Regions from separate parts of the Homo sapiens genome. Here all the other regions are linked to region 2. Evidence: promoter capture Hi-C in 16 types of primary human blood cells and fetal thymus (Javierre and others, 2016). All regions are on one chromosome and are shown on one strand. The core of a region is centred on a gene start or on the middle of the fragment in contact, and the rest is flanking DNA. Distances in the headings are between cores, read along the strand shown.

What was found. Contacts are between HindIII fragments. The CHiCAGO score rates a contact against its expected background, and 5 or more counts as called.
Region 1: a fragment that was not itself captured here is called in contact with the fragment with the promoter of FKBP3 in region 2 in 1 of 17 cell types (non-activated CD4 T cells); the score reaches 5.3 in non-activated CD4 T cells.
Region 3: the fragment with the promoter of TSHR here is called in contact with the fragment with the promoter of FKBP3 in region 2 in 2 of 17 cell types (total B cells and non-activated CD4 T cells); the score reaches 5.7 in total B cells.

Annotation. Positions count from the first base shown.
Region 1 is chr14:81,520,108-81,524,904 of GRCh38, forward strand. The region is part of intron 3 of SEL1L (SEL1L adaptor subunit of SYVN1 ubiquitin ligase); the gene reads right to left. Among named protein-coding and RNA genes, the nearest start is that of SEL1L, 11 kb to the right of the region's middle. The HindIII fragment of the contact is 2,259 bases long and covers 951-3,209 here.
Region 2 is chr14:45,132,467-45,137,159 of GRCh38, forward strand. It overlaps FKBP3 (FKBP prolyl isomerase 3), which reads right to left and starts at 2,015. Exons shown (of 7, transcript NM_002013.4): 1 at 1,883-2,015. The coding sequence starts at 1,990. It overlaps FANCM (FA complementation group M), which reads left to right and starts at 3,464. Exons shown (of 23, transcript NM_020937.4): 1 at 3,464-4,073; 2 at 4,603-4,693. The coding sequence starts at 3,566. RefSeq lists enhancers at 1,213-2,084, 1,772-1,991, 2,085-2,955, 3,618-3,667 and a silencer at 1,961-2,138. The HindIII fragment of the contact is 3,907 bases long and covers 706-4,612 here.
Region 3 is chr14:80,954,082-80,958,308 of GRCh38, forward strand. It overlaps TSHR (thyroid stimulating hormone receptor), which reads left to right and starts at 1,540. Exons shown (of 10, transcript NM_000369.5): 1 at 1,540-1,769. The coding sequence starts at 1,600. It also overlaps a transcript of CEP128 not described here. The HindIII fragment of the contact is 2,816 bases long and covers 343-3,158 here.

The sequences.
Region 1 (4,797 bases), core at 830-3,329, about 36 Mb after region 2:
CTGTCACATAACCCAGTTCTAGTGTAGCTGGAACTGTACACAGAGCCATATATATGCAATTTATGTCATATATATGCATAAGTACTTAAGCATTTTCATATATTAAGAATAAATTAAAAACAAATCTAAATCATTATTGAAAAGTGAAAACTGGTACAAATTAATCTAAATGTTTATAAAGTTGTTGATATAACCAGAGAATTATTAGTGATTTTAAAACACTGTATTATTACAAGTCCCTAGCAAAATATATACCAAGAATAAGAAGGACCATAAAGGAATCTTGGGCTGCATTCTGTGGTCCCACAGTTAGTGGTAAGGGCCACTGTTATTTTGAAACTATATATGCATATTTATTATGATAAAACAAAATAACATTAATGTCATTAGGTACTAAGATTTTCAGCACCAGTGAAAGGAGATAACACAAAAGAAGCAAAAACTCTGATAAGGTGGAAAGGGCTCGCAGCAGACCTGTAGTCTGTTCTTTCTTCTCACTGGCCCAAAACAGAGTGAGCAGATACCTCTCTCCAAGCATCATCAAATCACCTTAGAAATATGGTAAAGAGAGACCTCTGGCAAACACACTGAAGGTATTTACTATTGGAAGAGTCCTTGCTTATGAAATGCTTCAGCAGGATGAACTTGATCTGTCTACATTGCTCATTATACAAAAACCTGGGATGTATGTAGGCATGACTCTCTAGAAAATATCACATACACTATGTAATTATCAAAGAAGAAACCAGTGATGTCTCATGTCGGAAACAGCTTTCTTTCGTGGAATTGACACTCTACAGGCATTACTTAGAGGCCTTGAGTGTTGAACTCTGGGCTGGAGCACAGTCTAATTGAGGAAAGAAACGACCCGAGAGCAGCTCTGGCAGTCACAGACTTCTCTACACCCCGCTCACGTCTTATGATAATTTTATCTTTGAAAATATTTGCCAAGCTTGATACTAGGTTAGGATCTCTGATTCTTGTAAGTTCAATTTGTCAATCTGATTTTTGTTATCTTGCCTGTAATATTTAATTTGAACTAGAAGTTATCGGTATGAAAGATACATTTCCTAACCCAATGCACCAAAAAGGCCTATAAGTAATGAAAATTTAGCAATGCAGATCACTGGTGCTTATATTATCTAACCCACCAAAAGCAATCTGGGTTCCTTGGAGAAATAGCTGACTTTCATTTCTGGGTCAAGAAATGTACAAAATAAGTTTAGGACATCCTTGTTCTGCCTGGAAAAAAAAAGTTACGAAAGATCACCAGGATCTAGTCAAAAAGACAAAGGAATGATTACCAATGGCCAAAAAAGGAAAATTCTGAGCAATCAACAAAAAAGAATGATTGCAATGAACAAAAATATGATCATGTGACACATCATAACTTCTTGGCCAATGACAGACTGTGTATACCATGGTGGTCCCATAAGATTATATCGCTGACAAATTCCTATCACCTAGTGATGTCCTAGTCATTACAACACTGTAGCACAATCCATTACTCATGTTTTTGTAGTGAAACTAGTGTGAATAAACCTACTGCACTTCCAGTTGTATAAAAGTATAGTAATACAATTACGTACGGTACATAACACTTGATAGTGATAACAAACAACTATGTTACTGGTCTACATATTTACTATACTTTTCATCCTTACTTTAGCATGTACTCCTACTTATTAAAAAAAAAAGTTAACTGTAAAACAGCATTAGGTGTGTCCTTCAGGAAGTACAGGCATCGTTATCATAGGAGATGACAGTTCCATGCCTGTTAATGGCCCTGAAGACCTTCCAATGGGACAAGATGTGGAGGTGGAAGACAGTGATATTGATGATCCTGACCCTGTGTAGGCGTAGGCTAATGTGTATGTTTGTCTTAGTTTTTAACAAAAACGTTTAAAAAGTTAAAAAAAAATTTAAAAATAGAAAACAGCTTATAGAATAAGGATAATATATAAAGAAAATATTTTTGTATAGCTCTACAATGTGTTTGTATTTTAAGCTAAGTGTTACTACAAAATAGTTGAAAAGCTAAAACATAAAAGTTTATAAACTAAAAAAGTTACCATAAACGAAGGTTAATTTACTATTGAAAAAAAATTTTGAAAATAAATTTAGTGCAGCCTAAGTGTACTTGTTTATAAAAGTTTACAGTGGTGTACAGCAATGTCCCAGGCCTTCACATTCACTCAGCACTAACCACTCACTCACAGACTCACCCACAGCAACTTCCAGTCCTGCAAGTTCCATTCATGGGAAGTGCCCTAGACAAGCGTACCATTTAAAAATCTTTTATACCATATTTTTATGTGCTTTTTCTATGTTTAGATAGGTTTAGATATACACATAATTACCACTGTGTTACAGCTGAGTACGGTATTCAATACAATAACAAGCTGTAGAAGTTTGTAGCCTAGTAGCAATAGGCTATAACATATAGCCGAGGTATAGGCTACACTAGCTAGGTTCGTGTAAGTACACTCTATATTTGCACAACGATAAAATTAACTAGTGATGCATTTCTCAGAATGCATCCCCATTGTTAAGTGACACATGACTGTCCCTCAGTATCACTGGAGGACTGGGTCCAGGACCTGGCCTGGTGGTACCAAAATCCATGAGTGCTCAAGTTGTTTAGATAAAATGACGTAGTACTTGCATATAACCTACGCAATCCTCCTGTTTTACATCATCCCTAGACTACTTCTAATACCTAATATAATGGAAATGCTATGTAAATAGTTACGCTACATTGTTCAGGGAATAATGACAAGAACAAAAAGTGTGGACATGTTCAGTACAGTTGCAACCACCCATTTTTTCCAAATATTTTCAAATATTTGGTTGAATCCATGGATACAGAGGGCTGACATGTATGTAAGAATCCATGAATTCATAATGATGCTTGTGATATTGTGAAAAAAATATTTGATCTTCATCCGTTTCCAGAAACATAGCTCTTAAAATCCCTGAAATCTCTTGAGTGATAAGAATGTCTTCTGTATGATAATGAGAAAATTGGTGGCTGGAGGTTCCTAGAGAGCCTTGGGATAGGACTTGGTTGCCAGGGAAACCAACCATTAGATTAGATTAGAGGGTTAGAATTTACAGTCCCATCCCCCAACCTCAGAAGGGCAGAGGAGCTAAAAGTTGAGCCAATAAATCAACGCGCAATGATTTAATCAATTATGCCTGCATAACAAAGCTTCCATAAAAACCCAAAATAGCTGAGTTCTGGGAGTTTCTGGAAAGCTGAGCACATGGAGATTCCTGGAAGGTGGGTGGCGTGATCAGATCAGAGTGGGCATGGAAGCTCTGCAGTCCTTCTCCCATACCTTGCCCTACACCTCTCTTCCATCTGGCTTTTCGTCTCTATCCTTTGTAATATCCTTTATAATAAATGTAAATTTATATTTACATTTACCCATTTATCATGCTTCCCAGAGTCCTAAGTGCTAGCAAATTAATTGAACCCAAGAAGGGGGTTGTGGGAACCCTGATTTATAGCCAGTCTGTCAGAAGCACAGACAACCCGGGGCTTATGATTGGCATCTCAAGTAGCGGGGACTGGTCTTGTGAGACTGAGCCCTAAACTTGTGAGATCTAATGCTATCTCCAGGTAGTGTCAGAATTGAATTAAATCAGCAGACATCCTGCTGGTCTCTGATGGAGAATCCTCTGCAGAACTGATTGCTTACTTGGTATGTGGGGAAATACCCACAACATATCTGGTGTCAGAAGTGTTAACTCAGTGAGAAAGAGAAAGAAAAACACACCTTGGTTTGGTTTTTACTATATCCTTACAATGCTCAAATACAAAGCAAAACAAAACAAATACAAACAAACAAAAACATACTCATTAGTCTCTTTCAGAGATTGCTTGGGCACCAAATTTTCATTTCACAACAGTGCAAAGGAAATAAGAATTTATCTAGCTTTCTCTGGATGAGACTATATTTCAGGGTAATCAAAGACTTGATGAGAGAAAATTCTTTATAAAAGAATCCCAGGTAACAAATGCAGGAGGAATGGTAGAATTAGAAAGTCACCATTTTGCAACCCCTAATAATTAAAAGATCCAGGCAACAAACATAAATGGTTGCCAAAACCCCTAGGCAAAAGATTAATGAGGAACTTTAGAATGGTGAGATCAGGGTGATACCACCTGACCTCGCTAATTAATCTTAACATCAGTAAAAGTGGAAAAATCAGACACTACATGTCTCTCAATGTAAAGCAACAGAAAGTACACACCACCACCTACCTATGAAATACTCTCAATAAAAAGACAGAACCAAATCTACCCATGTCTCTAGAACTAACTCCCAGTTTATAGAATAAACAGCAGATAATGGAACAAGCTCAATGACATTACAAGTTCATGACCAGCAAGATCCAAAACGTGGGAAACTGTATAGCACAAAGGATACTGCATATTTCTTTAGCAAATAAAATGACACTTAAAAACAAAGGAGGGGCTGGGTGCGGTGGCTCACGCCTGTAATCCCAGCACTGTGGGAGGCCAAGGTGGGCAGATCACTTAAGGTCAGGAGTTCGAGACCAGCCTGGCCAACATGGTGAAACCCCAACTCTACTAAAAATAGAAGAAAATTAGCCAGGCATGGTGGTACGCGCCTGGTATCCCAGCTACTCAGGAGGCTGGGGCAGGAGAATCTCTTGAACCCGGGAGGTGGAGGCTGCAGTAAGCCAAGGTCATGCCATTGCACTCCAGACTGGGCAACAGTGCAAGACTCTGTCTCAAAAAAAAAGAACAACAACAAAAGAGGGAGA
Region 2 (4,693 bases), core at 765-3,264:
GGCCCACTGCAACCTCCCCCTCTTGGGTTGAAACGATTCTCCTGCCTCAGCCTCCCGAACAGCTGGGATTAGAGGCGCCCACCACCAGGCCCAGCTAATTTTTTTTGTATTTTTAGTAGAAATGAGGTTTCGCTACGTTGGCCAGGCTGGTCCTCAATGCCTGGCCTCAACTGTTAGTCAGGATGGTCTCGATCTCCTGACCTCGTGATCCGCCCGCTTTGGCCTCCGAAAGTGCTAGGATTACAGGAATGAGCCACCACGACCGACCGAGACTATGCATTTAAAAGATTAATGTTATAAAAACATTTTGATAATCCAAGTCTGTTGAAATTCTTCCACGTGGCCCAGTTTTACATACGATTCCACATGGCATGATTTGTTTCATAAGAATATGATGGATGAAGTACATGACTGAGGTATTATTAAATGTTAATGATGTCTATTCTATTGTTTCAGATGAAATACGAATTGGCTTAAGAGAAAATAGTTCCATTAAAATGGGGTAAGATCCCCGACACATGTTCTTTTTCACCCTTGTACCTCCAAACACTGAGAATAGTTCTTGTTACAGATGTTGTATTAATATCTGCTAAATTAATCTAAGATGCGGATGCCAGGATAATAATTAAGGAAGAAGGCACTGGAAGTTGGAGAGTTCTTCTATCTCCCTGTCATGACGCCCGCCCAAAATGAAAATAAAATATAAGCTTCTCAAAATAACCCAGAAATAGTGGCTCACGCCTGTAATCCCAGCACTTTGGGAGGCCGAGGCGGGCGGATCACGAGGTCAGGAGATCGAGACCATCCTGACTAACACGGTGAAATCCCGTCTCTATTAAAAATACAAAAAATTAACCTGGCGTGGTGGCACGCGCCTGTAGTCCTAGCTACTCGAGAGGCAGAGGCAGGAGAATCGTTTGAACCCGGGAGGCGGAGGTTGCAGTGAGCCGAGATCGCGCCACTGCACTCCAGCCTGGGCAACAGAGAGAGACTCCGTCTCAAACAAACAAACAAAAAAACCCAGAAACAGTTTTTCTAAATGAAAAGTTTAGAATTTTAAAAATTGTATAGAAAACACAAGCAGGCTGCCGCTTGTAAGAGAATGCTGCGTGCACAACTATTTCAGCAATTTAACAGGTGCATGAATGAACTTATTTTCCAAAGGAAAAACAAGTGTAACAAAAATAACTTGACTATAGACGGATGGTTAAGATGGAGACTATGCTGACAAATGGAGAGCCTACAGTATAAAGCATTTCAAATAAATTTCTTAGTCTGTTTATAACAATGACAGACCACTGCACAAGAGAAATGTGCATGTAGCTCCCTTAAAGTATAAAGGTGAAAAGGTCATTTAAAGGGTCGATATGTTAAATCAAAACTTAAACCACAACCTACGGATTTTTTAAAAATCACACGCATTAATGTTCAGTATTTAGTAAACTGTTGAGAAAAGCAAGTTGGATACACCGTTCCCACAGAAATCTTCACATCCCTTCCCATTTCCCTAGTAGCCGGCGCCCCGCTCCCAGGAGTCTCATCCACACCACTATTCCTCGGCCTCTCCGCCCTAGCCCCCAATATCCTCGGGTTCCTATTTTTCTGGCCTCCACCCCCACTCAAGGATCCCAATGAGGTTCTAACTCTACAATTGCAGCCTGTGTGCCCCAAGAAATAAAGCTGCTCCCCTGCCCCAGTAGAGAACGCCCGAGAGGCGGGAGCGAGGCACCAAAGCACAAGCTGGGCCTCTCCGGCCTTCCAGGCCACCGGCCGCGGGAAGACGAGGGCGGGGGCACAGAGGAATACGGAATGTATGGGCATCTCCAGGGGGGTGAGGCGTCCCTCAGCCGCACCAGCCCGGCCGCCCCTACGCCTCTGGTACCGAATCTGAACCGTGTTCCTGCAGAAACTTGATAATGTCCTTCTTGGGCAGCTGCTCACTGCGCAGCTGCTCCACGGTCCACGCCCGCTGTGGAACGGCCGCCGCCATCTTCCCCCGCTGCCTCCGCTTTACTGAGCCAGCCCGCCGCAGTTCGGCATCGCCCCGCCCCCTAGGGCGGGGCGGGGCCACTCACGGAGGTCGAGGGGCGGGCCTCTGCTCTAGCAGTCGGGATTGGGGCCTGTCTTTGAGTGACGTCAAGGCTGTGCTATGAGGGCTTCTTTGTTGAGTCCGGGTTGAAAAACCTACCGCGGTCGTCTCTGCAGTCGACTGAGTAGAAGACCGCTAGAGATCTTCGATTCTGAATTAGACACCTTGTGAAGCGACCTCTGATGGTAGCGACATTTATCAACCATTACCCACATTTAAGGCAGCTATGCCTTTAAAGTCCAGTCTATAACCTGTTAAAAGAAAACAGCATTCAGGCTCCTTATCTCGTTTTATCTAGTTCTAGCCTAAAAAGTCACACCTGAAGTGCTTCAGTCCTTGTCGATCCGAAAACCCATATCCCACCATTTCCCTTTTAAAGATCACACAACCGAAACTTAAATACAAACTGCCCATCCCCTTCCCCCCATACAAATACGAGAAAGTTTGTCCAAAACGAAGTTCAGAAACTTTAACAAATAAAACAATTTATAAAGAAGCCGCACTCAGGATGCCACTTGCTGATGAGAATGACATTATTAATGCTCGTAACTCTGTGATGTATATTTTTTTCTCAGTACACGAGGAAACAAATTTACAGAGGTTACTCAAAGTCAGGTTTAGAGAGAAGTCAGGAATTATTTGAGACAGAAATCTTCGTTAGAGTGGAATAATTGCACACCGACGTTTATTATAATGCTCTTACCTATAATAAAGATTTAATAGTTGAACATCAGGACTCCTTACTTAAAAAAATGTAGGCTGACTCTGGGCATGTTGCCTATGAGTTAGCTCTGCTTTGCAAGGAGCATTAAAAAAAAAAATTCTGACGAATAGCTGGACCAGACCACGTTCACTTCCCTTTAAACAATGAAAATATTAAAATAATGGGTTGCCACTCCCAGCGCGGTGAAAAAGAGACTTGGCATTTTGTTTTCTCAGCCCAGATAGAGATATAAGACAAATTATTCCATCTACACATTTTTGCTTTTCACTTTATATTCTGATTTAAAAGTACAAGGAATGAGGCACGTTAGACGCTCAATAACATTAAGTTCCCAAACTGGTGGCTATTCCATTGTCCCCGGGTATGTAATATTTTACAATAAATCTCTATTATAACATTTTAAGTGATTTATCACGTTAGCAATGACGCCCAGCCATCTAATCATTGGAAACGGAACTTAAATTTAGAGTTTGTTAAAACAAAACACCGGAACCGCACCGGGGACCATATTTAGAGTAACGCCTTAATAATGCGCATGAGTCTCCGGCAGGGCTGTGAAGGTTTCCGGGAAGCCAGCCAATCATTCCCAACGGAAACTCAGTAGCGGCATTTTCAACTGGATAAACTGGCCTTAGTCCCGCCTTCTCGTTCCAGAGTTTTGTGCGAAGGAAACCGATGGGGATCGGAACCGTAGCGGTTGAGCTGCTGCTGCTACGGATATCTGACAGAAGCCTTCGGTGGTTGTCGGCCTAATGAGCGGACGGCAAAGAACGCTTTTTCAGACGTGGGGCTCAAGTATCTCCCGATCATCTGGGACTCCGGGTTGCAGCTCCGGAACTGAGCGACCTCAGAGCCCTGGCAGCTCCAAGGCGCCTTTGCCAGCAGCAGCGGAGGCTCAGCTGGAGTCGGACGATGATGTGTTGCTTGTCGCGGCGTACGAGGCTGAGCGGCAGTTGTGTCTAGAGAATGGCGGGTTCTGCACCTCCGCGGGCGCCCTGTGGATTTACCCTACCAATTGCCCAGTGCGGGACTACCAGCTGCACATTTCCCGGGCTGCTCTGTTTTGCAATACGCTGGTGTGTCTGCCTACCGGACTGGGAAAGACCTTTATTGCCGCCGTGGTCATGTACAATTTCTACCGCTGGTTCCCTTCAGGAAAGGTGGTCTTCATGGCCCCAACGAAACCCTTGGTGACACAGCAGATCGAGGCTTGCTACCAGGTGATGGGTATCCCGCAATCCCACATGGCCGAAATGACAGGTATCTTAGACTGGACTAATTTTGAAGTAAGAGCTGGGAATTCCTGACCCATGTGGAATAGTTCCCAAGCTACAACATGTGCATCTTACGCCCTCCCTCTTAAAACATTCTCTACTTGCAGCAAGCCCAAAACTGATGAATAGGGTTGCTTTATTCAATCTTCAGAGAATATCTGCAGCTTGTCATAGTATTTTGAAGCTATTATGTGCGTATACCCCATGGGTAACTGAACATGATATTTCCTGGCATTCTTCCTGAAAAAGATTTCTCAGTTGAAGAATTTGCCTCTCTTCAAATATGCCATTTTGTAGGAATTTTCTAAAGACAATTTGGTTGTAGTCCTAGATAAGTGCCAGCTTTGATATTTGGACCACACCAGAACTTTAAAATGTAGCATTCCGATGAATTGTCAAATTGTTTTTCTCTTAATGTTACCAAAGCATGTTTGCATTCTGAAAAAGCCAGACTATTTATATTTTATAGATAACAGTCTGAAGTTTAGAATGTAGAATGTCACTTTTATTTTCAGGGTCTACACAAGCTTCCACCAGGAAGGAAATATGGTGCAGTAAGAGAGTGCTTTTTCTTACACCTCAGGTCATGGTAAATGACCTTTCTAG
Region 3 (4,227 bases), core at 290-2,789, about 36 Mb after region 2:
ACACAGTGAAACCCCGTCTCTACTAAAATTACGAAAAAATTAGCCGGGCGTGGTGGCGGGCGCCTGTAGTCCCAGCTACTCGGGAGGCTGAGGCAGCAGAATTGCTTGAACCTCGGAGGCAAAGGTTGCAGTGAGCCGAGATCGCGCCATTGCACTCCAGCCTGGGCGACGGAGCAAGACTCCGTTTCAAAAGAAAAAAAAAAAGAAAAGAAAATTTGTGCATGTTGTATCAGCAGTTCATTCATTTTTATTGCAGAATAGTATTCCAATGTGGAGGTATCAGAGTTTGTTTATCCATTATCTAGTCGCGAGACACTTGGTTCGTTTAGTGGTTATGAATAAAGCTTCTGTAAAATTTGGAATACACATATTTTAAATGTACGGTTTAATGAATTTTGATAAATGTATACATCCACTTAACCTCCAGCCTAATTACGATATGGAAACCCTGTGTGTTCCCTCCTGTCTTTTTCTAGTCAATCTTTCCTAACCTTTATTCTGATTCCCATAACCACAACTTTTTCCTTCCTGTCCTAGCCAAGTTCATATAAAAGGAATTATGCAGTATAGAAGGAATTGACATTCCTTTTATCCCAAGAGGAATAAGTGATTGAAGACTTTTAAGAAGGAAATAGGCACAATCTGATTTATGTTTGTAATGATCTTTTTGGCTACTGTGCGAAGAATGGTGAGTATGCCACTTAAGTATTATTTTTCTTCCCATCTTCCAGGGGGAATATGACTCAATGAAATTCTTGGGTCGACCAGAATTTCCATACTGGACCCATTATTAAGGGAACCTGGAATTATTTCTGCCATTCCCGATTCTTCCCAGCAGATGGCCCCAAAGTTCAGTTCCTGAATTGCCTCGCGGAGCCGCGGGCTGCAACGTGAGGCGGCCGCTGCCAGTCGACTCAACCACCGGAGTGGCCCCTGCAGTTGGATAGCAACGAGAATCCTCCAGGGGTGCAGGGCGACGGCTTCGGCCGCACCGCGGGCTAGCCAGGGCTGCGTGCCCGCCTCTGACCCTCAGCAGAGGTGTCTCTGGCCAGGAGGAGCTGAAGTTCTGCAGGACATTGGTCCGCCCGCGGACAGTCCACTCCGCGGGGACTTTCTCTGGATAAGGAGTGCGTGCGAGTGGCTCCCAGGCAGACAGGGTGTCTAGAAGGCTACACGCTAGGGAAGGTGGCTCCTTGGATTTAAAGAGGAGGAAAGGAGGGGGCATCTAAACTAGGCTTTGGAGAGAACTAATGGGAGGGGCGCCCGGGGTGGGGGGGCGGGCTGGAAAACAGAGGGGACAGCCAGGACTGGTGTTGGGTGTCAGGGAACAGACGGAGCGGACTGCGTGGGTCCAGCCAAGGAAAGTGAAGCAAGCAGACTTGTTTGGGTCAAGGTTGCCTAGGGAAGCGGAGCACTTAAGTGCCTCTTTTTCCCCTTCTCCAGCCTCCTCCACAGTGGTGAGGTCACAGCCCCTTGGAGCCCTCCCTCTTCCCACCCCTCCCGCTCCCGGGTCTCCTTTGGCCTGGGGTAACCCGAGGTGCAGAGCTGAGAATGAGGCGATTTCGGAGGATGGAGAAATAGCCCCGAGTCCCGTGGAAAATGAGGCCGGCGGACTTGCTGCAGCTGGTGCTGCTGCTCGACCTGCCCAGGGACCTGGGCGGAATGGGGTGTTCGTCTCCACCCTGCGAGTGCCATCAGGAGGAGGACTTCAGAGTCACCTGCAAGGATATTCAACGCATCCCCAGCTTACCGCCCAGTACGCAGACTCTGTGAGTACCCGGGAGAGATCAGGGTAGGACCCAGAGATCAAGGGCATCTGCAGAGGTGGCCCGAAGTGCACAAAAGCAGCTCAATAACAGCCCGAAGTAGTGTGTGAGTGTGTGTATGTGTGAGTGAATGTCTGTGTGTGTAGATGTGTGTGTGTGCTAAAAACTTAATCGCCCACACTTGGGAAGGTATCATTGTTGACATCCTCATTCCCAACACAGGAAAATGTTACAAAACTTTGGTGTACAATGACCGTGAGAGCTGTTCTTTCCAACAAGCTGCTATTCAGCACTTTGCCTAACCCTGGTTGAATCTGTTTTATTTGAATTAATAAGGATAATGGCATCTCAGGAACTGACCTTTTTGATCTTACCTTGGGTAATAAAAAATTGCAAAAATATGTATTTCTCCTTTTTGTTTCTCTAGATGGGAGGTTATCTTAGCAGTTCTGCTGATTCATCAAATTGTTGACAAAGGTTTAAGCAGGGGCCCTTTTTAAAATGAACTGTCTATACAGTATCTGTAAGTTACTTACTCAAATGTGAACTGCCAGTGAAATAGTACGTCCAGAACCCTGCTTTGTGATAGAGGTATAAAGAAATGAAATTTCATAAAAGTATAGTACATTTATCTGCATGTTAAATGTTACCAGATTAGAAACCTGATGTTAAATAAGATTATACACACACAACCTGTTTCTTAACAGCAATTTAAATCAGTGATCATTGAAATTGTAGACAAAACCAAGGGAATAAAGTCTGTCTTGATTAGTTAAAAAGAGAACAGAAAGAAAGGACAGTAAAACAACCTAGGCTGGTTAAATCCAGTTAAGATAAAAAAAAATGCAGGTTATTAAAGAAAATGTTGATAGATGAAAAGAAATGGGAAAGTTGCACCTCTAGATTTTCTCAAGAATTTAGCTCATGAAGACTATTTAACAGTAGATGAATATTTGAGCACAGAGATATATTTCTGTGCTCAGAGATATCCTAGTGTCTTAGCACACCTGAATTAATTAGTTCAATAACCTCCAAACAGTGTGGTAGTCATTCTCCATGCTGCCACCACAGAATAAGATGTGTAAAAGGTGTAATGGCCTCTTGATTACACCTCTACATAGGTTGCTTGTCACCTCTAGAATAAAATTCTTTTGTGCAGCCTACCAGATCTTTCAAGACCTAGTCAAGTCTTTCCAACCTCATTGCTCCTCATTTCTCTAACTTCCCCCTCCTGCTGAGAACTTCTGGCACTTCCCCAAAGGTCCCTGCTGTTACAGCTGCCCTTGCCTTTCTTCCCACTTTCTGGCCCCTCTGCCTGAAGCACATTTCACCCATTTCTTCACCCAGCTAATGCCTACTCCCAGATCCAGATCCTGGATCAACCCTGCAGGAAGCTTCTCCTGACCCATGACCTTCAGGCTGGGTAAGCTATACCCCCCTTCCCAACAGCGTTCTCTGCATGAACCTAACCCTAGCCCTTAGACATTGTCTACTTTCTTGTAACTTGTTATTTATTTGCATGCCCACTCAAGCAGGACACAAGCTTCTCTAACATAGGGAACTGCCATTCAACCCCGAATTCCTGAAACCCTGGAACTACTTAGACACTCAGAAAAAACAAAAAAAAAAAAACTTAAGTGAATAAATAAACAAATGAATATGCCAGGTCTCTGAATGTCCACTCTATGTTGGGGAGAAAGAAATCCAAAGACATCACTTCTTCAGAGACTTCTTTAACAGTGGCAGAAATTCAAGTCATTGAAGAGAGATGTGGCTCTGACAGTGAAAAGGAACTCGTAGACATCCTGTTTAAAATTCCACCAAAAGTTGAGAAAGAAAGGGTAATGGAGAATGAGCAATGGAACAGGAGTCAGGAAACCAGCATTCTCTTTAGCCCTTCTTTACTAACCATGAAATTGTGTAAGATGACTGATTTGGAAGGAGCCAAATTTCCTTCTGGGTAAAAGAGAATGTTCAACTAGGTGCTTTCTAGGTGATGACATGATGCTGATGAGAATAGTCTGAGGGAAGGCACTGAATCACAAGAAAAAGACATAAAGACAGTGGCAAGGAGGATCTGCCCTTGAGAATAATGGAGAGGGAGGTAGTATGTCCTGAAGAATAAAGTTATTCTGAGATCGAAAAGAGAAACCTGATAAAAAGTGTGGGTAAAACAAAATGGTAGTCTCCTTTGAACAATGGCTACTACCATCTGCAACAGTAGAAAAATGATTTTTAAATCTTTTGGGGGCGGTAGAACTCTTTGTTGAAGAAAAGCATATGAGAGAAGTAAAACATGTAAAGCTAACAATTATATTGTGTTTACTTACGGGGGCGGGGGGTCCTGTTCTCAGCGCTTTGCATGAACTCACCCAGTGAATCCTCACCAAATCCAATTAAGTAGGTGATGTTATTATGCTCATTTTATAGATGAGGACCTTGAGGCACAAAAATAAAATGA